7 separate regions of the Homo sapiens genome follow, and all the other regions are linked to region 2. The links are contacts of gene promoters, found by promoter capture Hi-C in blood cells and fetal thymus (Javierre and others, 2016). All regions are on one chromosome and are shown on one strand. The core of a region is centred on a gene start or on the middle of the fragment in contact, and the rest is flanking DNA. Distances in the headings are between cores, read along the strand shown.

The links. The method cuts DNA at HindIII sites, captures the fragments that hold promoters and counts their contacts. A CHiCAGO score of 5 or more calls a contact.
Region 1: a fragment that was not itself captured here is called in contact with the fragment with the promoter of LGALSL in region 2 in 1 of 17 cell types (neutrophils); the score reaches 6.8 in neutrophils.
Region 3: a fragment that was not itself captured here is called in contact with the fragment with the promoter of LGALSL in region 2 in 1 of 17 cell types (activated CD4 T cells); the score reaches 5.4 in activated CD4 T cells.
Region 4: a contact is called between a fragment that was not itself captured here and the fragment with the promoter of LGALSL in region 2, in 8 of 17 cell types (M2 macrophages, neutrophils, activated CD4 T cells and 5 more). The highest score is 9.1, in M2 macrophages.
Region 5: a fragment that was not itself captured here is called in contact with the fragment with the promoter of LGALSL in region 2 in 8 of 17 cell types (M0 macrophages, total CD8 T cells, M2 macrophages and 5 more); the score reaches 7.3 in M0 macrophages.
Region 6: a fragment that was not itself captured here is called in contact with the fragment with the promoter of LGALSL in region 2 in 2 of 17 cell types (M0 macrophages and neutrophils); the score reaches 5.2 in M0 macrophages.
Region 7: a contact is called between a fragment that was not itself captured here and the fragment with the promoter of LGALSL in region 2, in 2 of 17 cell types (neutrophils and megakaryocytes). The highest score is 5.7, in neutrophils.

What each region holds. Positions count from the first base shown.
Region 1 is chr2:63,996,896-64,000,137 of GRCh38, reverse strand. The region is part of intron 1 of VPS54 (VPS54 subunit of GARP complex); the gene reads left to right. Among named protein-coding and RNA genes, the nearest start is that of VPS54, 21 kb to the left of the region's middle. The HindIII fragment of the contact is 9,532 bases long and covers 1-3,242 here.
Region 2 is chr2:64,452,769-64,456,168 of GRCh38, reverse strand. LGALSL (galectin like) reads right to left here and starts at 2,007. Exons shown (of 5, transcript NM_014181.3): 1 at 1,588-2,007; 2 at 754-825; 3 at 492-580. The coding sequence starts at 1,623. It overlaps LGALSL-DT (LGALSL divergent transcript), which reads left to right and starts at 1,291. Exons shown (of 3, transcript XR_002959392.2): 1 at 1,291-1,644. RefSeq lists silencers at 1,361-1,660, 1,751-1,820, 1,831-2,250. The HindIII fragment of the contact is 9,168 bases long and covers 1-3,400 here.
Region 3 is chr2:63,947,704-63,951,048 of GRCh38, reverse strand. VPS54 (VPS54 subunit of GARP complex) reads left to right here. Exons shown (of 23, transcript NM_016516.3): 8 at 1,886-2,012. Among named protein-coding and RNA genes, the nearest start is that of VPS54, 70 kb to the left of the region's middle. The HindIII fragment of the contact is 3,189 bases long and covers 417-3,345 here.
Region 4 is chr2:64,040,284-64,043,796 of GRCh38, reverse strand. No RefSeq gene overlaps it. Among named protein-coding and RNA genes, the nearest start is that of VPS54, 23 kb to the right of the region's middle. The HindIII fragment of the contact is 6,176 bases long and covers 1-3,513 here.
Region 5 is chr2:64,877,026-64,880,135 of GRCh38, reverse strand. No RefSeq gene overlaps it. Among named protein-coding and RNA genes, the nearest start is that of LINC01800, 15 kb to the right of the region's middle. The HindIII fragment of the contact is 564 bases long and covers 1,184-1,747 here.
Region 6 is chr2:64,057,717-64,061,104 of GRCh38, reverse strand. It overlaps LOC124907774 (a long non-coding RNA gene), which reads left to right. Exons shown (of 2, transcript XR_007086337.1): 2 at 1,142-1,587. Among named protein-coding and RNA genes, the nearest start is that of VPS54, 40 kb to the right of the region's middle. The HindIII fragment of the contact is 2,461 bases long and covers 64-2,524 here.
Region 7 is chr2:64,015,723-64,019,197 of GRCh38, reverse strand. It overlaps VPS54 (VPS54 subunit of GARP complex), which reads left to right. Exons shown (of 23, transcript NM_016516.3): 1 at 1-260. Among named protein-coding and RNA genes, the nearest start is that of VPS54, 2.0 kb to the left of the region's middle. RefSeq lists a silencer at 1-356 and an enhancer at 517-586. The HindIII fragment of the contact is 2,409 bases long and covers 409-2,817 here.

The sequences.
Region 1 (3,242 bases), core at 256-2,755, 460 kb after region 2:
CTGTAATCCCATCAGTTTGGGAGGCTGAGGAGGGTGGATCATGAGGTCAGGAGTTCGAGACCAGCCCGGCCAACATGGTGAAACCCTGCCTCTACTAAAGATACAAAAAATTAGCCGGGCAAGGTGGCACATCCCTGTAATCTGAGCCACTTAGGAGGCTGAGGCAGGAGAATTGCTTGAACCTGGGAGGCAGAGGTTGCAGTGAGACGAGATCGTGCCATTGCACTCTAGTCTGGGTGACAGGGCGAGACTCCATCTCAAAACAAAAAACGGCAGTTGATCAAGCAGAAGAAAGAGTTAGTGAGCTTGAAGACAGGCTTTTTGAAAATACACAATCAGAGAAGACAAAAGAAAAAAGAATAAAAATAAGCACACCTACGGGATTTAGAAAGTAGCCTTGAAGGGGCAAATCTAAGAGTTATTGTCTGTAAAGAGGAGGTAGAGAAAGAGATAGGGGTAAAAAGTTTATTCGAAGGAATAATAACAGAGAACTTCTCAAACCTAGAGAAAGATATTAATATCCAAGTACAAGAAGGTTATAGGACACTAAGCAAATTTCACCCAGAGAGGACTAACTCGAGACATTTAATAATAAAATTCCCAAAGACAAGGATAAAGCAAGGATACTAAAAGGAGCAAGAGAAAAGAAACAACATACAATGGAGCTCCAATATGGCTGGCAGTAGACTTTTCAGTAGAAACCTTACAGGCCAAGAGAGTGGCATGACATGTTTCAAATGCCGAAGGAAAAAACCTTTTACCTTAGAATACTATATCCAATGAAAATATCCTTCAAACATGAAAGAGAAATAAAGACTTTCCCAGACAAACAAAAGCCAAGGGATTTCATCAGCTCCAGACCTGTCCTACAAGAAATGCTAAAGAGCTGGCCAGGTGCAGTGGCTCACACCGGTAATCCTGGCACTTTGGGAGGCTGAGGTGGGTGGATCAGCTGAGGTCAGGAGTTGAAGACTAGCCTGGCTAACATGATGAAACCTTGTCTCTACTGAAAAACAAAAATTAGCCAGGCATGATAGATAGTCCATGCCTGTAATCCCAGCTACTCAGGAGGCTGAGGCAGGAGAATCACTTGAACCTGGGAGGTGGAGGTTGCAGTGAGCCAAGATGGTGCCACCGCACTCCAGCCTGGGTGACAGAGTGAGACTCTGTCTTAAAAAAAGCTAAAGGGTATGTACTTCAATAAAAAAGAAAAAGATTAATAAGCAAAAAGATACCATCTGAAGATGTAAAACTAACTGGCAATATAAGTACACAGAAAATCATAGAATATTATAACATGATAACTGGTGTGTAAACTAGCCTTAATTAGAGAAATTAAAAGGGGCCAATAAAAAATTATAACTATAATTTTTTCAAGACATAAGGATAGTAAAATATAAATAGAAACAACAAAAAGCTATAAAGTGGGGGGACATAGTTAAAGTGCAGAGTTTTATTAGTTTTCTTTTTGCCTATTTATACAAGCAGTGTTAATTGTTATCTGCATAAAACAGTGGGTTATAAGATAGTATTTGCAAGCCTCATGGTAACCTCAAATCAAAAAACATGGAACAGATACACAAAAAATTAAGAAACCAAGACATTAAGTCATAACACCAGAAAAAAATCACCTTTACTAAGAGGAAGACAGGAAGGAAGAGAAGACTACGAAACAACCAGAAAACAAAAAACAAATGGCAGGAGTAAGTCGTTACTTATCAGTAATAATATTGAATGTAAGTTGACTAACTCTCCAATCACAAGACATAAAGAGGCTGCATGGATAGAAAAACAGGACCCAGTGATCTGTTGCCCACAAGAAACACACTTCACCTATAAAGACACACACAGACAAAAAAAGGGATGGAAAAAGATATTCTCTAGTAGTTATCAGACAAAATAGATTTCAAGACACAAACTATAAGAAGAGACAATGAAGGTCACCATATAATGATAAAGGGGTCAATTCAGCATAGGATATAACAATTGTAAATATATATGCACCTAACTATTGGAGCACTCATATATAAAGCAAATATTAGAGCCAAAGAAACAGGTTGGAAATAAAGAAGACAATTCAAATAATATCAAGCATCTTCTCTGACCACAATGGAATAAAACCAGAAATCAATATTAGGAATTCTGGAAACCATACAAACACATGGAAATTACATAATATGTTCCTGAATGACCAGTGAGTCAATGAAGAAATTAAGAAATTGAAAAATTTATTAATAATGGAAACATGACATACCAAAATCTATGAGGATACAGCAAAAATGATACAAAGAGGAAAGTTTATAGCTATAAGTGCCTACATCAAAAAGAAGAAAAACTTTAAATAAAAACCTAATGATGGATTTTAAAGAAAGGGAAAAGCAAGAGCAAGCCAAACAAAATTAGTGGAAAAAAAGAAATAACAAAGCTCAGAGCAGAGATAAATGAAATTGAAATGAAGAAACAGGACAAAAGATCAATAAAACGTTGGGTTTTTGAAAAGATAAAACAAAACAAAACAAAACAAAAACTGACACATCTTTTGCCAGACTAAGAAAAAAGAAGACCCCAAAAGATCAGAGATGAAAAAAGGAGATGCTAAAACCGATACCACAAAATTCAGAGGATTATTAGCGGCTACTGTGAGCAACTGTATGCCAATAAATTGCAAAATCTAGAAGAAATGGATAAATTCCTATATACGTACAATCTTCCAGGACTGAACCATGAAGAAACCCAGGGTGTGAACAGACCAATAACAAGTAATAAGATAAAAGTTGTGATGAAAAGTCTCCCAGTAAAAAGTCCAGAACCTGAATGGCTTCACTGCTGAATTCTACCAAACATTTAATGAGGGTCTAGTACCAATCCTACTCAAACTAGTCTGAAAAATAGGAGGAGGGAATACTTTAAAACTCATTCTACGAGGGCAGTATTACCCTGATACCAAAACCAAACAAAGACGCATCAGAAAACGAAACTGCAGGCCTATGTCTAACGGGGGAACCAGCCCCCTGTATTTCAACATAGGTTCTCTTCTATTTTCCCTAAGTGTCGGCCAGTCTGAGAAATAAAGGGAAATAGTACAAAAGAGAGAAATTTTAAAGCTGAGTGTCTGGGTGAGACATCACATGTCAGCAGGTTCCGTGATGCCCCCGAGCCATAAAACCAGCAAGTTTTTATTAGCAATTTTCAAAGGGGAGGGAGTGTATGAATAGGGTGTGGGTCACAGAGATCACATGCTT
Region 2 (3,400 bases), core at 758-3,257:
TTCAAGAGAGGTTAGATTATGGAGAAGTAAGTCAAACCAGCTTATTTTGTTACCTAAAGCAAGCTCTGGTGAAAACTTTGGTGTTGAAAATGACTAAAATTAGAGAATTCCACTTCGGAATTCTCAAAAACAGCCACAGAAATTGACCAGGGGAAATAATGTTAAGTTGGGTTCTTATTCATCTTGATAGTTCTTGCTCCTGGCACCATGTTTCAAAACCATTAAAAAAAAAAAAAAAAATCCTCTGGCCTCCCTAAGGGTCAAAGAGAAAATGTGGGCCTATATTTATAATCTCTGATATAAATAGCTGTCTGGAGAAATGATGGCTGGGATTCATACATATTCGTTTCATGGGAACATGGTACTTTCTTGGCACTGGCAACTAGCAACACTGTCCACAAGGAGAGGAAGAGGAGTGCTAAACCACAACAGAAGTGGGCAGGGCTCAGCCACAGCCTGATAGTTCTGTCCTGACAAAGACTCTGCCTTACCTCTCTGGGTTGAGGTCTACGATGCCCATCACTAACACCTTCTTGCCTGGTCTCATGCCACCTTTAATGTGCCCACAAAATGGAACTATCTGAAAAGGGTGGGAGAAGAAAAATGAATTTTACAGCCTGTTAGGGAAAAGCCAAGACCTCAGACCCTGAAGGCCTGACCCACTGGAAAATGCAATAAACAAATGAATAAAATTTTAAAAAGCAATGAGAAAGGAGGAAGGTACAGGCAGAGACACAGAGCAAAATCATTTACCAGTCGTGGGAAGTACACGTCCGCTTGAACTGGAGAGCTCAAAGAGTTGTTTAAATGGCCATCATCTAGTTTCTAAAAATAGAAGTACACAGATTGGCTTTCCATGGGCTCTTTTTTGGGGGGCTGGAGGAAGAACCCACACAGATGTGGTGGAATCCAGCAGCCTTCCACATGCACACAGTGTCTGCAGATGATGCCTCTTCACCGTCTCTTAGATAATCTCATCACCCCCGAACAAAACCCATCCTTTCCACCCGGTAGTTAAGCCTCTGAAGATCCGCAGACCCTTCAGATCCAGATCAAAATCAAGGTCGAGGTCCACCGAAGAGCCAGAGCCCCACGCCGGAGGAGGGCAGGCCCCTCTCCAACCGTAAACGCTTCTGGAAGCGCGGTGGGCCAGGCCTGTCCTTCGGGACGTGACTGAAGTGCAGCGGCCGTGCTCAACTTCTCTCGGGAGCCCCGGGCGCCGACCCATTTCCAAGGGGGAATCCCCGGTACGTCGGGGGCGGTGGCGGGGCGCGCGCCCCGGACACACTCACCCACGCGCACACCTGGCTGGCGGTTGCACGGCACAGAGGGGGCTGTCGGGCGTCCCTACCCGCCATCCTCCCCAAACTCCCTCCCCAGCCCAGAGCCCCGCAGCCCGGGAGCCTCTCCAGCCCCTAACACCGGCCGCGCGCAGCCAGCGGCTGCTAACAGGTACCGGGCGCCTTCCCACGCGCCGGGCGCCGGCCGGGCCTGCGGCTGCTCAGCACCCCAGCACTGCTGGAGCAGGCGGCGGCGGAGTGCGGGACGGCGGGGAGGGGCGCCTCGCGCGCGCCCTGCCACACTCACCACCACGGCATCGCTGTCGGCCACTGATCCCGCCATCTTCTTGCCCGGCGCGGCGGGGTACGTGGGACGCGGCGCGCGGGCGGGGATCCCGGGGCTGTCCTGCGCGGGGCGGGGGCGGGGGCGCGGGTCCGAGCTGGCGGCGGGCGCGCGCACACACGAGGGGGCGCGCGCGCGCGCGCCCGGGGCCCGGCGCCGACCTGGCAGGCAGAGCCTGGGAGGAGGGGAGGGGAGGGAGGCAGCGCGAGCTGGGAGGGCGAAGGTGCTTGCCGCGGCCCAGAACGGCCCCGGACCCGGGCCGACGGGGCTGCTTGCTGCCGCTGCCGCTGCCGCTGCCCGACCAAGAAAAGTGGCGAGGGCCGTGCCGCGTCGGCCCTGGGCAGCATTTAAAGGCCTCCGGGGCCCGGCTCGGGAACCGGGAACAGGGCGGGGACCCGGCGGGGCTGCCGCGGCTTGCTCAGCGGGCCCTGCCCCTCGGCCATTGGACGGTGGCGGAGGCCGGGGCGGGAGGGACGGGCCTGTCCGGGTCCGGGAGGGCGGGGGCCCTGTCGGCTCTCACCGGCCAGAGGGTGGGCAGGGCCGGGGCTGGAGAAGTGAGGGCCCGAGCCGGTCAGGTGACAGGTGCTCGTGCCACCCGCGCCCCTCCCTCCAGCCTCCTTCCTCCTGCCACGTCCTGGGCGCTGGTGGGGCGATGGGAGGCGAGGTCGAGGGAAGATTGGGTGCTGGGGGTGGTATTCCAGAGTGGGAGACTTGGCAGGATTTCTTTCAGAGAATTCCAACAAAATCGGGGGAAGGATTCATTCTGCTCTCTAGGGCAGAAAGAGAATGGAAGGTCTGAAGGCTTGCAGAAATAAATGTGTGACCTGAAAGAACGAAGCAGAGAGGACTCAAGGTAGGGACCTTTCTATCCCAGGAGGCTAGATACAGAAAGGTCGCTCTTCCCTGTGGAAGGACAGGCAGGTCTAGGGGTCCCTGGACTCTCTCGAGCAGGAGTCAAAGCCTTACCAAATCAAAGTGGGCGCAGTCACTGTCCTCAGAGAGCCTCCATTGAGCCCTGTTTTTAACAAGTCACTTGCCCAGTCTGGGGTAGTCAGCTTCTCACTGAAAATCTCCTCATACCCTTTGTGGAGTACTTCCCAGGGGATACACACCTCTTTTATTCAAGCCAGAAATTCCTTTATGGCATTTCCACACTAGGACGATTATGTAACTTCTCAGATAAAGCTGTATCAACATATCCTCTATTAGGTGACATCCTTGGCTGAAACATTCCATTGCATGAATCACCGGGGCGTTCTATGCTAATAAGCAGGGAGCATGTGTGACCTACTGCAGTCCCAGAGGGCCCCTCAGAGGCTCCTTTTTTTTTTTTTTTTTTTTTTTTTAAATTGAGACGGAGTCTCCCTCTGTGGCCCAGGCTGGAGTGCAGTGGCGCGATCTCAGCTCACTGCAACCTTCGCCGCCCGGGGAGGCTTCTTTCTTCTAGTCACTGCAATTGGCTGTGTGGCCTAGAACATCAATGTGGCTTTTGTGTCTTAGTTTTCCCTTTATGGACCAGAGCTAATGATGGTAATCTCAGTTGAGCAGGGAGAATTACCTGCACACGCCTGTAAGCCTCACTCATATCCTCTGGAAGTGGTTCTTGAACTAGATAGAGGCTAAAGCGCAGTACGCTTGTGGCTGCAGCACACTTTGTTTACCAGTCTTAGCTCAAAATCACACTTTATTACTTTAAAATGTTAGGCACTTATAGGAAATGATTGACATTTGAAAGCATACTTTAGTATGTATCAATTTCTGAGAGTCTGGTATAGAG
Region 3 (3,345 bases), core at 762-3,261, 510 kb after region 2:
AAAAGCTAAGATATCAAGTGGTAATTTAAAGCAAAAGGAAAGTGAAGGATCTAAAGCTGGAGAACTTAATGCCAGCAAAGGATGGTTTGATAATTTTAGAGGTTTGGCTTAAAAAAATGTCATGATAATAGGAGAAGCAGCTTCTGCTGACAAAGAGGCAGCAAATGAGTTCCTGGATACCATTTAGAAAATAATGGAGGAGAAAGAATATCTACCTGAAAGGTTTTAATGCAGACAAAAGTGCCCTACTCTGGGGGAAAAAAAAAGCCACAAAGAACATTTATTAGCAAGGAAGAGATAGTGAGCACCAGGATTTAAGACAGGAAGGGATAGGCTATCTCTTACTGTTTTGTGCAAATGAAGTCAGGTTTCTGATCAGGACTGCCCTTATCTATAAAGCTGCTAACCCACAAGCTTCAAAGGGAGAAGATAAATAACAGCTGCCAGTCTTCTGCTTATACAACAAAAGACCTGGATGAGAACCCTTTTTCTGGATTGGTGCCATTAATGCTTTGTCTCTGAAGTCAGGAAGTACCTTGCCAATAAGAGACTGCCTTTTAAAGTACTTTTGGTGTTGAACAATGCCCCTGTCCACCCAGAACCCCATGAATTCAGCACCAGAGGCATTAAAATGATCTCCTTGCCCCAAACACAACATCTCTAATCTAGCTTCTAGATCAGAGAGTCATAAGTACCTTTACAGCTCATTACACACACTACTCTATGGAAAGGATTATCAGTGCTATGGAAGAGAACCCCGATAGAACATCACGAAAGTCTGGAAGGATTACACCATTGAAGATGCCGTCATTGTTATAGAAAAAGTTGTGAAGACCATAAAGCCCGAAACAATAAATTCCTGTTAGAGAAAACTGTGTGCAGATGCTGTGAGACAATCAAGGAAATCATGAAAGAGATTGTGGATGTGACAAGGGTGAGGAATGAAGGATTTCAAGATAAGAATCTTGGAGAAATTCAACAGCTAATAGGTACCACAACAGAGGAATTAACAGAAGATGACTTGACGGAGATGAGTGTTCTCAAACCAATGCCAGACAATGAGGAAAAAGAGATAGAAGCAGCAGTGCCAGAAAACAAGATGACATTAGACAATCTGGCAGCAGAGTTCCCATTATTCAAGACTTCCTTTGACTTCTTTTATGACATGGACTCTTCTATGGGCACTGAAACTAAAGCAAATGGTGAAAGAAGGATTGGTACCATATAGAAACAAACATTTTTAGAGAAATGCAAAAGTAAAGTCAGAAATTACAGTGCATTTCGGTAAAGTTATACTGAGTGTGCCTGCCTCTTCTGCCTCCACTTCCACCTCCTCTGCCACCCTTAAGATAGCAAGACCAACCTCTCCTCTCCCTCCTCCTCCTCAGCCTACTCAATGTGAAGATAACTTTTATGATGATCTGATTCCAGTTAATCAATAGTCAATGTATTTTCTTTTCCATAGGATTTTCTTAGTACCATATTTTCTCTAGCTTTATTGTAAGAATATAGTATATGGTACACATAATATAGAAAAGAATGTGTTCACTGACTTTATGTTATTGGTAAGGCTTCTGGTCAACATAAGCTATTAGTTAAATTTTTGGGGAGTCAAAAGTTATACACAGATTTCTGATTGCACTGGTGTTTGGTGCCTCTAACCCCCATGTTGTTCAAGGGTCAACTGTAAAGAGAAAAATGGAATTTAGAAGATGAAATGTTTGCAGTTATTTTGGTAAGTTAAAGGACTTCATTTTTTGAAAACATTGCATTATTGCACAGGTACTGTCAACTGAAAAAGTTTTACCTACTAGTTCCCTTGATTGTGGAGCGAATTTGTAGTTTTTAGTGAATATAAATATAACATTTTTCTCTTCCTTTTTAGGCATTTGGGATCACAGCTTTGTGAATTAGAAAAACTGATAGATAAAATGATGATTGCAGAATTTTCTACTTATTCTCACAGTGACTTAAATAGACCACTGGAAGATGACTGTCAAGTTTTAGAAGAGGTATGTGTTTTAACTGTGGAATGAAGTTGATGCCATTGCTTAACAGTCTTGGCTTAGAACACATTTTTCTCAGATTATAGGAATCAAAATTATCTTAAATTTCAAGGGCTATCAGACCTATGAAGTCCTTCACTAGCTATGTGACTTGAGCAAGCACCATGATTGTTCACTATCCTATGGAATTAGAGAATAAAATAATTGTATAGCTTAATTAGAAATTAGAGTTAAAATGAGCTTACAGACCAAGTTAAAAATACAGATATAGGATGAATTAATTTATATTCTGTGTTTATGTGTGCGAGTGCTGGAGCTTGTCTTTTATAAAAAGTGATCATAGTTGGGCGCATTGGCTCCATGCCTGTAATCCCAGCAGTTTGAGAGGCTGAGGTGGGAAGATTGCTTGAGCCCAGGAGTTTGAGACCAGCCTTGGCAACACAGGGAGACTCCATCTCTACGAAAAATAAAAAAATTAGCTGGGTGTAGTGGTGCATGCACACCTGTAGTCCCAGCTACTTGGGTGGCTAAGGCGAGAGGATCACTTGAGTCCAGGAGTTTGAGGCTGTTAGTGAGCCATGATTGTGACATAGCAAGACCCTGTCTCAAAAAAAAAAAAAAAAAAAAACCGAAAAAGTGATCATTATCATATGGTAATTACCCGTCATTCAAATTTACTGAGTACCTATTATGAACATGTTTTTTATATATGTATATACAAATACATAATATCCAGGCTTCACTTAGCTGGTAACTTCTCAGTGTTAATCACTGACAACAACTAGTAAAAAATCCCAGAAACCCTGATAACTGCCTAAGTAAAGAAACTTTTGTAGATGTTAGCAGTTGACTTCCCACTGTGAGAGTCTAGGTCATTATTTCAGTCTTCTAGACTATGCATTACAAAGCATGGGTGAGGTGCAGTGGGTCAGGCCTATAATCCAAGCACTTTAGGAGGCTGAAGCTAGAGGATCGTTTGAGCCCAGGAATTTGAGACCAGCCTGGGCAACACAGTGAGTCTACAAAACAAATTTAAAAATTAGCCAGGTGTGGTGGTGCATGCCTCTAGTCCCAGCTACTCGGGAGGCTGAGGTGGGAGGATCACTTGAGCCTGGGAGATCAAGGCTGCAGTGAGCTGTAATCACCTCACTACACTCCAGCCTTGGCAACAGAGTGGAACGCTGTCTCAAAACAAAGAAGCAAAAACCAAAAAAAACCCACAGGGCCCATGGAGTATTTATTGGTCATCAGGGTGTGAGAAGGATATTTTTTACTTGTTGAAACTAGAACAAAAAATACCCTTGTATTGTTTTGCCCGAAAACCAGCTTCATTGGTTCA
Region 4 (3,513 bases), core at 72-2,571, 410 kb after region 2:
GAGTGTTTTCATTTTGTGAAAATTATTTGAGCAATATAGATATATTTTTAGACAGGGTCTTACTCTGTTACCCAGGCTGGAGTGCAGTGGTGCAATCGTAGCTCATTGTAGCCTCAAACTCCTGGAACTCAAGGGATCCTCCCACCTAGGCCTCCCAAAGTGCTAGGATTACATGCATCTGGCTGAGCCATATATTTTAATGTATATATTACACATCAATAAAATGGCCTTACCTGTTAGAGAAACATTAAAATATTAATGAATGAAATGGTATGATACTTGAGATTTTCTTAGAAAACTTCAGAAAAATAATTAGGCATGGGATAGATGAAACAAAAATATAGACTGCTAATAATTCTTCAAGCTGTGATAGTTACATGAAAGTTCACTATTCTACTCTCTCTACTTTTGTGTTTTGGAAGAATGTTTTTATAATAAAAAGCTACAAAAAAAACCCACAGGTACAATTTTAGTCTTAGTGTAGAAAAGGACATAAAACCCAAAAGTCATAAATGAAAAAAATGTTGATGGCTTTAGCATCCATTCCAGCTCCCTTCCTCCCTGCCTTCCATTGTAAAGGCTACAAAGTGAAATGTTGGCATTGCTAGCCCCCTGGCACTGAGCCTGTCCATATGACCCTTAATGCTAGTTAATGAGATTTAGGCAGAAATATATTCTGCCTACATACATAAGCAATACAAATCAAAATCACAATGAAGTGCCATCCATTTTTCACCTATTAGATTGATAATGATAAAAAATTTGTCACTCCCAACTGTTGTTGACAGTTTGAAGACACATTCTTCTACACTATTGGTGGAAATATAAGTTCATATAAAATCCCTTGGAAGAGTAATTTGGAAGTATCTATCGAAATTTTCCTGAAAGCAACAGCAACATTTGAATGGTAAGAGCAAGAATGGAAAGGAAACAACAGATATGAAGCCTAAGTAGAGTCTAATTTAATTAATTTGTTGACTGAATATGGAGGAAAGGGTCAAACATTACTAGGGGCATTCATAGAAATAAGGAAGTCATACGCACTTGTTCAGGCAAGCACTTAATAATTCAGTTTTTCTGTTACTGCACAATGAAGACAATTTTTTAAATTCTCTCTAGGTCCAGAATCTAGATGTTAATACATATGTTTATATAGAAGATTTGTAATTTCATCAAGTATTAATCTAGGAACTCAAAAGGAAGGAAACAGAATGCCACTTAGCCTTAGCTACAAGTAGGACCTACTCATAAAGAAAACACACTTCAGCTCTCCCTCTCCCTCTCCCTCTCCCCCTCCCCTTCCCCCTCCCTCTCCCTCTCCACGGTCTCCCTCTCCCTCTCTTTCCACAGTCTCCCTCTGATGCCGAGCCGAAGCTGGACTGTACTGCTGCCATCTCGGCTCACTGCAACCTCCCTGCCTGATTCTCCTGCCTCAGCCTGCTGAGTGCCTGCGATTGCAGGTGCGCGCCGCCACGCCTGACTGGTTTTCGTATTTTTTTGGTGGAGACGGGGTTTCGCTGTGTTGGCCGGGCTGGTCTCCAGCTCCTAACCGCGAGTGATCCGCCAGCCTCAGCCTCCCGAGGTGCCGGGATTGCAGACGGAGTCTGTTTCACTCAGTGCTCAATGGTGCCCAGGCTGGAGTGCAGTGGTGTGATCTCAGCTCGCTACAACCTCCACCTCCCCGCCGCCTGCCTTGGCCTCCCAAAGTGCCGAGATTGCAGCCTCTGCCCGGCCGCCACCCCGTCTGGGAAGTGAGGAGCGTCTCTGCCTGGCCGCCCATCATCTGGGACGTGAGGAGCCCCTCTGCCTGGCTGCCCAGTCTGGAAAGTGAGGAGCGTCTCTGCCTGGCCGCCCTCCCATCTAGGAAGTGAGGAGCGCCTCTTCCCGGCCACCATCCCATCTAGGAAGTGAGGAGCGTCTCTGCCCGGCCACCACCCCGTCTGGGAGGTGTACCCAACAGCTCATTGAGAAGGGGCCATGATGACAATGGCGGTTTTGTGGAATAGAAAGGGGGAAAAGGTGGGGAAAAGATTGAGAAATCGGATGGTTGCCGTGTCTGTGTAGAAAGAAGTAGACATGGGAGACTTTTCATTTTGTTCTGTACCAAGAAAAATTCTTGTGCCTTGGGATCCTGTTGATCTGTGACCTTACCCCCAACCCTGTGCTCTCTGAAACATGTGCTGTGTCCACTCAGGGTTAAATGGATTAAGGGCGGTGCAAGATGTGCTTTGTTAAACAGATGCTTGAAGGCAGCATGCTCGTTAAGAGTCATCACCACTCCCTAATCTCAAGGACCCAGGGACACAAACACTGCGGAAGGCCGCAGGGTCCTCTGCCTAGGAAAACCAGAGACCTTTGTTCACTTGTTTATCTGCTGACCTTCCCTGCCAAATCCCCCTCTCCGAGAAACACCCAAGAATGATCAATTTAAAAAAAAAAAGAAAGAAAACACACTTCAAATAGTGGTAAAAGACTTTTTTTTGCCTGGCCAACTGGCAAAGTTTTTTTTTTTTTTTTTGGGACGGAGTCTTGCTCTGTCACCCAGGCTGGAGTACAGTGGCTCAATCTCAGCTCACCGCAACCTCTTCTTCCTCAGTTCAAGTGATTCTCCTGCCTCAGCCTCCCAAGTAGGTGGGACTACAGGCGCCCGCCACAACACATGGCTAATTTTGTACTTTTAGTAGAGACGAGGTTTCACCATATTGGCCAGGGTGGTCTCAAACTTCTGACCTTGTGATCCGCCCATCTCAGCCTCCCAAAGTGCTGGGATTACAGGCATGAGCCACTGCGCCTGGCCAAAGATTTTAAAAAATAACCTAGATTAGCAAAGATGCAGAGAAATGGGTACTGTCATATACTGCTGGTGGGAGTGTGAGTGATTACAACTTTTGGAAGACAATTTTACAGTAGATAGCAAAAACTTTTTAAAAATGTTAGGTCTTTTGATCCAGCAATTCCAACTCTATCTGAAAAGTATATGCAGATATGTTTAAAATAATTTTTTAATCAAAGTAATATATGCACATCGTTGGGTTTTTTTGTTCTGTTTTGTTGTTGTTTTTAGAGAAAAGGTCTGGCTATGTTGCCCAGGCTAGCTTCAAACTCCTGGGCTCAAGAAATCCTCCCAACTAGCCCCAGCCTCTCCAGCAGCTGGGAAAACAGGCATGCACCATCATGTCCTGCTTGCACATGGTATTTTTAAAATTAATTATTCTGGAAGATTTAGATGGGAAAGCAGTGTACCTCTGCTCCATTTCTTACCCATACTGCTCTCCAATCTGCCACTTTCAAGAACGTTTCAGCCATTTCATCTACTACTTACGTCTTTGTGTTTAAATAATTTGCTCATTCAGGCTTTTTCTTGATTTATCAACTTAAGACATTGTCTATAGACATCCTGTTAAAGTAGTTGAGGATTTCGCTCTCTTATTCAATCTCCACTTCCTTTCCCCACTTCCTCTCACTATAGCTTTATCATAATCTTTAAATGTCATAAGGCAGGACTTTTTGGTA
Region 5 (3,110 bases), core at 216-2,715, 420 kb before region 2:
GAGTTGGGGGCCCAAGCCCCAGATAATAGTGTTACAGACATTACATGCCATTTGCTCATGGGAGCCTTCTCAGCACATATATTCCTTGGGAACCTCACGGGACCAAACTGCTTGGATTCAACTCCCATTTCCTAATCAGTTGTGTGGCCTTGGGCAAATTACTTAACCTCTCGGTGCCTCAGTTTTCTCATCAGTAAAATGGGCGTAAGGTCATTGTCTTAATAAATTTACACACGTACAGCACTTTGGGCCACAGTTGGTTCATGGCTAGCACTAAACTAATGTTAGCTGTCGCCACTCCCACCTAAGGCCAGTCCCTCCAGGAACCTGACACTTTTGGTGTTCCATCTCTTCTTCTCAACCATATTCCTGTCATGGTGGGTAGCACCCCTGTTCATCCAGTTGAGCCAGCCACAAGCCTAGAGGTCACCCCACTCCCCATCCCCACAAACCGTCATCAAGTCTCATCAACCTTATTAACTTCCTTAAAAACTTCCAGATCTGTTCCCCTCTGTCCTACTCTACAACTTCTCCCCAGAGCTAGCCCAGTAGCCCCCAAGTACAACCATCCCAGCCACTACCCATTTCCACCCTGCGGCCAGAGTCCTGCTTTGAAATGCAGACCTGATCTTGTCACCCCTCCCTGGACTCGCCCTGCTGAAATCTCTTAATGACTTTCCACTCCTCTTGGGGTGAAAATCAAAACCCTAACACCATGCAGACTGAGTCTGTTAGAATATTTTTGACCCTGAGGATCAGAAACCCTAGCAAACCAGATTTAAATTACAGGCAGTTTATTAGCTTCCTCACAGGTAGACTGGATAGGGTGGGCTTCAGGCATTGTATGATTAAGGCTCTAGGAACACGTCCTGCTATTCTCTCAGCCCCGCCTTCGTCTCCAGGTGCCAGCTTTGTTCACGGTTCAGCTAGCATTCTTTTGATCAATATCAAGTGAAACACTTCCAGAGAAAAAAGGGAACATCCTGCCCAGCCATGAAATAAAACTCCTTCCTGTCAGCCTGAGTGAGCCAGCTGAGGCCATGTGCCCATTCCCAACCAAAAAATTCCTAGTGACATGCGTACACTGAGTCCTTCCATGCTCTGCCTCTGGTGGGAAATGGGTTCTTCGGGACAAAAACACATTGAAATCATGCTGAAAGATACAACTAGTATTAAAAAAGCTTTGCTTGAATGATGCACAACTCTGAAGAATATGGAAGAGATAACCATGAACCTTATAGCTCCCCACTGTTCTCAATGACGGATCTAGGATCACAGGTTCCCAGGGCCTTGACCCCATGGAGATGAGCAGCAAGAGCCAAGGGCTGGAGCACCAAGGGAGGACAAAAGGTGAGGGGCTTGCTGGCCTCAGAGGAGACTCAACGGATGTGATGGAAAAAACAAGAACGTGCTGCCGTAGCGTCTTCTGCACCCGGGCTGGGTTCTCAGCCTGCTAATTGTTTTCTTTCTGAAAATGGACTAGCCACCACAAGACTTGAAAGCAGGGACTCGAACCGCTATTTGTACATTGATAGTCACAGCAGCACTATTCACAGCAGCCTTTTGGTGAAGCCTTTTGATTCACCTTTTGGTGAAAACAACCCAAATGTCCATCTACGGAGGACTGGATAAACAAACTGTGTTGTACACATATGATGAAATATTATTCAGCCTTGAAAAGGAAGAAAGGAATGAAATTCTAACACGTGTTAAATAAAATTGATAGGCCATTTTTTTGGGCTAAGCTTCTGCACTAGGTCCCAGTAAGACCAGAGTTAAAGTCAAAATGGAGTCACCCATGCTAAAGTTTCACATCACTAAACCTAAATTATTATCTATAGTTCTGAGAAATCAGGAGAGAGAGATAACAGCCAATTTCCCAAACAGGCCAGCTTCAATCTTCAATAGACAGGATAATGAAGTTCCCTCTGCCTTAATCCTTGCACACAAAAGGTAGCCTGGCATAACCTGAGGTTCACTGATCAGTGATTTTTCTATTTTTTCGATCTCCTTGTCTGTGCCTTACAAGGAAAGTAGCTTTAAGTGACTAATACACTTGGCTCTTTGCTTCCACTCCCGCTAGTTCTTTTCTGTCTGTAAGGCCAACCTCTCTGCTCAGCTCATCGGAACATGTATTTTTTTTTTTTTTTTTTTTTTTTTTTGAGACAGAGTCTCGCTCTGTCACCCAGGCTGGAGTGCAATGGCTCTATCTCAACTCACTGCAACCTCCACCTCCCAGGTTCAAGCGATTCTCATGTCTCACCTCCCAAGTAGCTGGGATTACAGGCCCATGCCACCAGGCCCAGCTAATTTTTGTATTTTTTGTAGAGACAGGTTTTCATCATGTTGGCCAGGCTGGTCTCAAACTCCTGACCTGAAGTGATCCACCCGCCTCAGCCTCCCAAAGTGCTGGGATTACAGGTGTGAGCCACTGCGCCCGGCCCAAAACATGTATTCTGTTTTATGGAATGAAGTATTGCCCAATTTTAGAATCACAAATAAAGTCAGTTAAGATCCTTAAACTGGATTCGTTGTAATTTTGTGTTTTGACATATGTTACAACATGGACAAACCTTGAACATATTATAATAAGTGAAATAGGCCAGACACAAAAGGACAAATATTGGATGATTCCACTTACATGAGCTACCTAAAGCAGCCAAATTCATAGAGACAGAAAGTAGAACGGTGGTTGCCAGGGTTGGGATGGCAATGGGAGGCAGAGCGAGGAGTTATGCACCCAGTTTCAGAGTGTGGGATGGTTAAAAAGTCCTAGCCATGGCGTGGTGGCTCACGCCTGTAATCCCAGTACTTTGGAAGGCCGAGGTGGGTAGATTGCTTGAGGTCAGGAGATTGAGACCAGCCTGGCTAACATGGTGAAACTCTGTCTCTACTAAATATACAAAAATTAGCCAGATGTGGTGGCATGTGCCTGTAGTCCCAGCTACTCGAGAGGGTGAGGCAGGAGAATTGCTTGAACCTGGGAGGCAGGAAGCTGCAGTGAGCCGAGATCATGCCACTGCACTCCAGCCTGGGCAATAGAGTGAGACTCTGCCTCAAAAAAAAAAAAAAATTCTAGTGCTGGAAGATATTGATGGTTGCACAATGGG
Region 6 (3,388 bases), core at 45-2,544, 390 kb after region 2:
ATTCACTCCACAAGAAGCGCTGAGGAAGAGCCATCCACATCTCTCCCTTTCCCACTGCAAGCTTTCAGAGTGAAGCAGTCTTGGGCTGGAAGAGTGGAGAGGATGTATCCTTAAAATCAGATTTGGAGTATTGATTAATATCTTACCAGATTTGGAGTGTGTGTATTTATATATATATGTGTATATATATACGTGTGTGTGTGTGTGTGTGTATGTGTGTGTGTGTGTGTATATATATATATTTCTTTTTTTTTTTTTTTTTTTTTTTTTGAGATGAGAGTCTTGCTCTGTTGCCTAGGCTGGAGTGCAGTGGTGTGATCTCGGCTCACTGCAACCTCCACCTCCCGGGTTCAAGCGATTCTCCTGCCTCAGCCTCCTGAGTAGCTGGGATTACAGGTGTGTGCCACCACGCCAGGCTAATTTTTGTATTTTTAGTAGAGACAGGGTTTCACCATGTTGGTCAGGCTGGTCTCGAACTCCTGACCTTGTGATCCACCCACCTTGGCCTCTCAAAGTGCTGGGATTACAGGTGTCAGCCACCGCACCCAGCCTGATTAATATCTTACACTGGACATTCTAATCTCCGTATCAAGACTGTGTTTGTAATTGAAAGTGATAGTCTATAGTGATAGCAATCATTATAAGCCAGAAAATTTAAGGGCTTGCCAGAATTTTCATACTAGAACATATCTATAGATGTCTAGATAGATAGATGGATAGACTTTATATATGCAAAGGGAAAATAGGGACAAAAATAAAGTTGCTTTTTTTTTTTTTTTAATTGAGACAGGGTTTTGCTCTGTCACCCAGGCTGGAGTACAGTGGCACAATCTCAGCTCACTTGGCTCACAGCCTCGACCTCTGGGCTCAAGTGATCCTCCCACCTCAGCCTCCTGAGTAGATGGGACTACAGGCATGCACCACCACACTGGCTAAGTTTTACATTTTTTTGTAGAGACGAGGTTTCACCATGTTACCCAGGCTAGTCTTGAACTCCTAGGCTCAAGTGATCCACCCGCCTTGGCCTCCCAAAGTGCTACAATTACAGGCGTGAACTGCTGTGCCCAGCCTAAAGTTGCTTTTTTATTACATCAGAGAATTCTTATTCAACATAATGTTTTCCAACTTTCTCACTTTACAGGCAATGAAACTGAATCCGAGAGAGCTTGATTCACATACCCCATCTCAGCAAGCCACTTCACACCAAAATCCAAACTAGAAGCATAAATCGAGGCATCTATAGGACATGCCACTGTGGGCTTATGCAAGAAGTTAGCACTGTTGCAAATTTCAAAAAAGGTCTAAGGCAAAATTTTAAACAAGGTCTATGAGCTATCTTTGCTGTATCGCTTGGCAGCAGACATTACCCTTAGGTCGTGTGGTATCTGGTAGTTGGAGAAGTCTCACTGGCCAAGCCAGGCTTCCTTGTTACAGTGACTTATACCTCTCCTCTGAGGTTTAGACCTTAGTTCTGTGATACAGAAATTCAATTTCATCTTTTCACCCAAGAATAATCAGGTTCCAATGAATTGATCTACTTGTCAACCTCACAAACAGAGTTACTGGTAAATAAAAATGTTCATTCAATTATGCTGAGAAATGTTACTGTCAAAGAAATAAGACTGATATCAGCTAGTCAGCATATTCTCTGGCTGAATTGTTTGGAGGGAAAATATAGATAAATCAGACATTCATTTTCATTCTCAAGAAAATAACTTCAAGTGTAAGTCCCACTGACAGTGGGTCAAAGACATAAACTTCACACATAAATGACAACATATAATAACAATTTGCTTTACTAAGCATATGCTCTGCATTTTTTTTTTTTTTTTTTTGAGATGGAGTCTCGCTCTGTTGCCCAGGCTGGAGTGCAATGGCGCAATCTCAGCTCAGTGCAAGCTGCACCTCCCAGGTTCATGCCATTCTCCTGCCTCAGCCTCCCGAGTAGCTGGGACTAAAGGCATCTGTCACCACGCCCAGCTAATTTTTTTGTATTTTTAGTAGAGACAGGGTTTCACCGTGTTAGCCAGGATGGTCTCGATCTCCGGACCTCGTGATCCGCCCGCCTCGGCCTCCCAGGTTCAAGCGATTCTCCTGCCTCAGCCTCCTTAGTAGCTGGGATTGCAGGCATATGCCACCATGCCCAGCTAATTTTGTGTTTTTGGTAGAGATGGGGTTTCTCCGTGTTGGTCAGGCTGGTCTCGAACTCCCAACCTCAGGTGATCTGCCTGCCTCAGCCTCCCAAAGTGCTGGGATTACAGGCGTAAGCCACAGCGCCCAGCCATGCCCTGCATTTTTACAAATTCCTTGGTGTTTTGAGGTGCATCCTCCATAGTGTGGTAAAACCTTGGCATCATAAAACTTTGGTTAGACAGAAATTAATTAGAACACTTCATTTAAAAGAATTTCTTTGATGCATCAACTTCTTTCCTCTCAGCTCCAAATCTCTGCACTGCTCTGTTCTGTGATGCTGGAGCTGGGCCCTGTAAACATTTCTCCTTTGCAGCTGGCAGAATGTTAAGCTTTGTCTACAGGGCTGGGAGGCCACTGCAGGAGGAAAGTGCTTCTCTCTTCTTTGTTCCCATGTGATTTTCCTTCTCTTGGGGTACTTGGCAGCCAGTGGGTGCAGGAATCCCAAAAGTGCTCAGCTGCCCAGGGAGTCTCACAGGCAACCCGGAAGGTGGTTTCTTGCATCCTGACGCTGACTTGCAGAACCTCGGTGAACTTCTTTACCATCTAGGAGGTGATAGCTACATCCGAGTGAAGTGACTCCAGTGAAGTCAGTCTTGAAGAGAGGGCTCTTCCGAATTTGTTCCTTCCTTGGGTACTCAGCCATAGCCCTGGGGCAAGCATTCTCAGTGGGGGTGAAAATTGGTTTTTGTGGGGGTAGGGAGTGTGTGTGAAATAATCTTAGGTTATTCCTCCAAAGGGCCACAGTAGACACACAGATATACTGTGTACCTGTAGAATTAAGGTTTCATGGGGATGTAGGGACAGGTGGTGATAAGGGGCAAAAAATATCTAAAAATATCTCCTTACAGGGGCAAATTTCTTTTTATAAGTTGAGAAACTCTGGTCTAGAGAGTAGCAGCTGCTCTTTATATCCACCATTCTTGTATTCTTAAGAGTTATGTTTATCCCTTAGTAGTTAATCCCATTTCTAGTTAATATACTTTCAATTTTCCCTGTTGGACTTACTGTGTGATTGTCTTCTGGCTGGACCTTGACTGATACAGTGCACTTGACTTTTATGGAAAAAAGGCAAATAATAATTGAAAATATGCTAAAATCAAAGGCTTGAATTTTTAAAATTCTAGGACATTGTCTTTTTTTTGTTGTTTTTGAGATGCAGTCTTGCTCTGTTGCCCAGGCTGGAGTGCAGTGGCAT
Region 7 (3,475 bases), core at 364-2,863, 440 kb after region 2:
ACAGGACACCCGGGAGAGACGTGAGGGAGCCGCCGCTGCCACCTCTCACCCCTGAGTGAAGCTGGGCTCGAGAGGGCGGCCCTGTGCTCCCCGGGCCGACTGGCCAGCGGGCGCGGGGCGGGGGCGGGAACCCGGGCTCGGGCCCGGCCGGGCGCCGGGCGGCGGCGGCCGTGGAGCAGCAGCCTCGGTGCGACGTGGAGGGCTGGAGGCGGCGGCGATGCACTAGGCCTCGCTCAGGGCGGCTGCCCCGGGACCCGCAGGTAGGTGTGCCCCGCGGCCCCCCGCGCGTCTCAGCCCACTCTCACCCCGACCTACAGCGGAGAGAGGGACCGAGACCCCACCCCCTCGGCTCTCCTCCCCAGCCCCAAACGGACCGAGTTTCGGTCACAGCTGACCGGCACTGAAGCTTCCATGCTCCTCTCCGCCACTTCCTTTTTTTTTTTTTTTTTTCCTTTTCACTCTCCCTCCGGGATCGGGGCTGGCAGCTGTGTTCCCTGCCTCCTGTCAGCGACCGCAAACGCCGCTCTTGCCCCTCTCTTATCTTTCCGGGATCCCAGCTCTGGAACTTCCATCACCCCCTTAGACGCTGCCCCCAAACTTTCCTTTTCTTTTTCCAGCCAGGCCCTTAGTCCTATTGGATTCTACTGGAATCGTTAAAACATTTGTTTGTTTTTCTCTCCGGGGAAGGCTAACCCAAAGAGTTACTCAGTATTTTGCATTTTGGCAATGTAGCTTGAAATAATTTGTGCAATAATTTTCTTCAGTTCTGCCTCCTTCCATCTCTGCATAGACAGAAAGGGCAGGCCCTCTCTGCCGTTTCTGCTCTCCCGTCGTTGACTTGGGAACTTTGGCTTGCCAATTATAATTAGCCGTTTGGTCTGTTCATGTGTTGAGTTCAAGATGGTATTTTTAGCATTTTGACTGACAGGCGTTTCAAAAAAAAATTTTTTTCTTCTAACCAGCTTTATTTTTTGGTCTTTATTGAGGCTCTTTCGAAGAATTAAATTGTTTGGACTGTTTTTGTTTTTAATTGGCTGTATTTCTGATTTGTCAAATCAAGGGCGGTCTTAATACTAAACGCCTTTAAGTAATACCGTGATAAATTACTTGTAGTATACCGAGAAATATTACTGCGATAACCTAAACTGCAGATTTTGATGTACATTCACTTTTATAAATCCGAAGGGGAGTTCTAATTGGAAAAAGCACCTTCAGAGCCTAAATGATTTCTAAGCAGTTAAATGATGGAACAGAGGGAATGATGGGATTTGTTTGACTGTATTTGTAGTGTAGTCAGAATCGGATTTCCTAGAAATGGATGTTGATGGTTCGTAGTGCTCATCATTGCTTATGATAGGTTACCAGTAGCTGTAATTGATAGTTGTTTGGGACGACAGTAGATGTTTGCGATTTTATTGTAATTTGGCTATTTTTAAATTATGTTCTGATAACTTAAGAATTATTACACTACCAATCTAAGAGGCAGTCTGAGGATCACTTTTTTAAATAAATGAAAAATGTTTTAATGGGTTTTTAAAATAAAGAATGCATCACAACCAAATCGTAAAGACTGTTTTGTTGTTGATATTCGTATATTTTGTTCTTGTAGAAGTATTGTTACTACAGCATTTGGCTTTCTGAAGTGTTTTTGAAATTAGAATTTAATACTAAAAGTTTACTAGGAAAAGGTGATTACTTTTGCATATGCTTATATTTTCTGGAAAGTTAAAATTGATTTCTGGATAAGATAATTTTTTGTGTCAGAATTAAAGTCAATTCCTATATAGCCCATGAAACGGCAAATTTTGCAGAATTTCTTCATCACACTCTTTTTTTTTGTTTCTTTTCTTTTTTTTTTTTTGAGACGGGGTCTTGCTCTGTTGCCCAGGCTGGAGTGCAGTGGCGCTATCTTGGCTCACCGCAACCTCCGCCTACCGGCTTCAAGTGATTCTTCTGCCTCAGTCTCCTGAGTAGCTGGGACTACAGGCGCCCCCACGCCTGGCTGATTTTTGTATTTTTAGTAGAGACGGGGGTTTCACCATATTAGCCAGGCTGGTCTTGAACTCCTGACCTTGTGATCCACCGGCCTCGGCCTCCCAGAGTGCTGGGATTAGAGGTGTGAGCCACCGCCCCGGCCCCGGCCCATCACACTCTTTTTTTTTTTTTTTTTTTTTTTAATCAACAAAAGTTAATTACAATTCCTCTTTCCTGCTCTTTGCTTTTTAAAAACTGCTTTATTGAGATAAAATTAACATACCATAAAATACACCCATTTAAGGTGTACCACTTGGCCGGGTTCAGTGGCTCACACCTGTAATCCCACCACTTTGGGAAGCCTAGTCAGGTAGATCACCTGAGGTCCAGAGTTCGAGACCAGCCTAGCCAACATGGTGAAACCCCGTCTGTACTAAAAATATATAAATTAGCCGGGCATGGGGGTGAGCGCCTGTCATCCCAGCTACTGGGGAGGCTGAGGCTGGCGAATCGCTTGAACCTGGGAGGTGGAGGTTGCAGTGAGCCAAGATAGCACCACTGCACTACAGGCTGGGTGACAGAACGAGACTCCATCTCAAAAAAAAAAAAAAAATATACAATTCAGTGGTTTTTAGATTAAATAATTGTGCAACCATCACCATAATCTAATTTTAGAACATTTTCATCATTCCCTCAAAAAACCTTTATCCATTAACAGTTACTCCCCATTCTCTTCACCCCACCCCCAGCTTTAGGCAACCACTAGTCTACTTTCTGTCTCAATATTGGCCTAATGTGGGCCTTTCATATAATGCTTCTTGGCTCATAGCTTCTTGAAAAGCTTTTCCTTTAAAATCAGTGTACATGTTAAAATTTTTTATTTGAGCTAGGGAATAAGCAACTGATCACCAATATTAAAAGTGATGTTGTAAATAACTGATACACTTTTTGGTTGTATTCAGCATAAAGTTGGAGAAGGCATGAATGGCTTCAGTAACCTCAAGAGGTAGTTTGGTCAGCTCGGAATCAATAAGTAAAAGTGGGCATTTTTGTCATTGAATATTAGAATATCAGGGAAAAGATCTTAAAGGTCATCAGCTTACTTCCTGCTTACCTCGCTATTAGTTGGCAGCAACCAGATGAGGAAACATGGAGATTAGAAGCTTGAATCTCTAGGATGTGTGGCTCAAGAACCACAGCGTGGCCATGTAAAGCAAGAAATGGGACTTTGGAAGTTAGAATTGTTTAGATTCTTGTATATATGTATGTATTTGACATTTTGCTAGCAGAGCTGAGAAAGAACTGGACATTCCCCCAACTTTGGGGGAAAAGTGGGTGACTATATGTAGCTACATTGATGAAACCCATGTTACAAAATCCTCTAAAAATGCTTTAACCTAAGGAAGGGTAGCAAATGTATTATTTAGATATCTTCTTATACTATTAATGTCTTATTTTTTTAAATCCAAATTTTAAAAAAATATAATTAACAGGGCCAGTT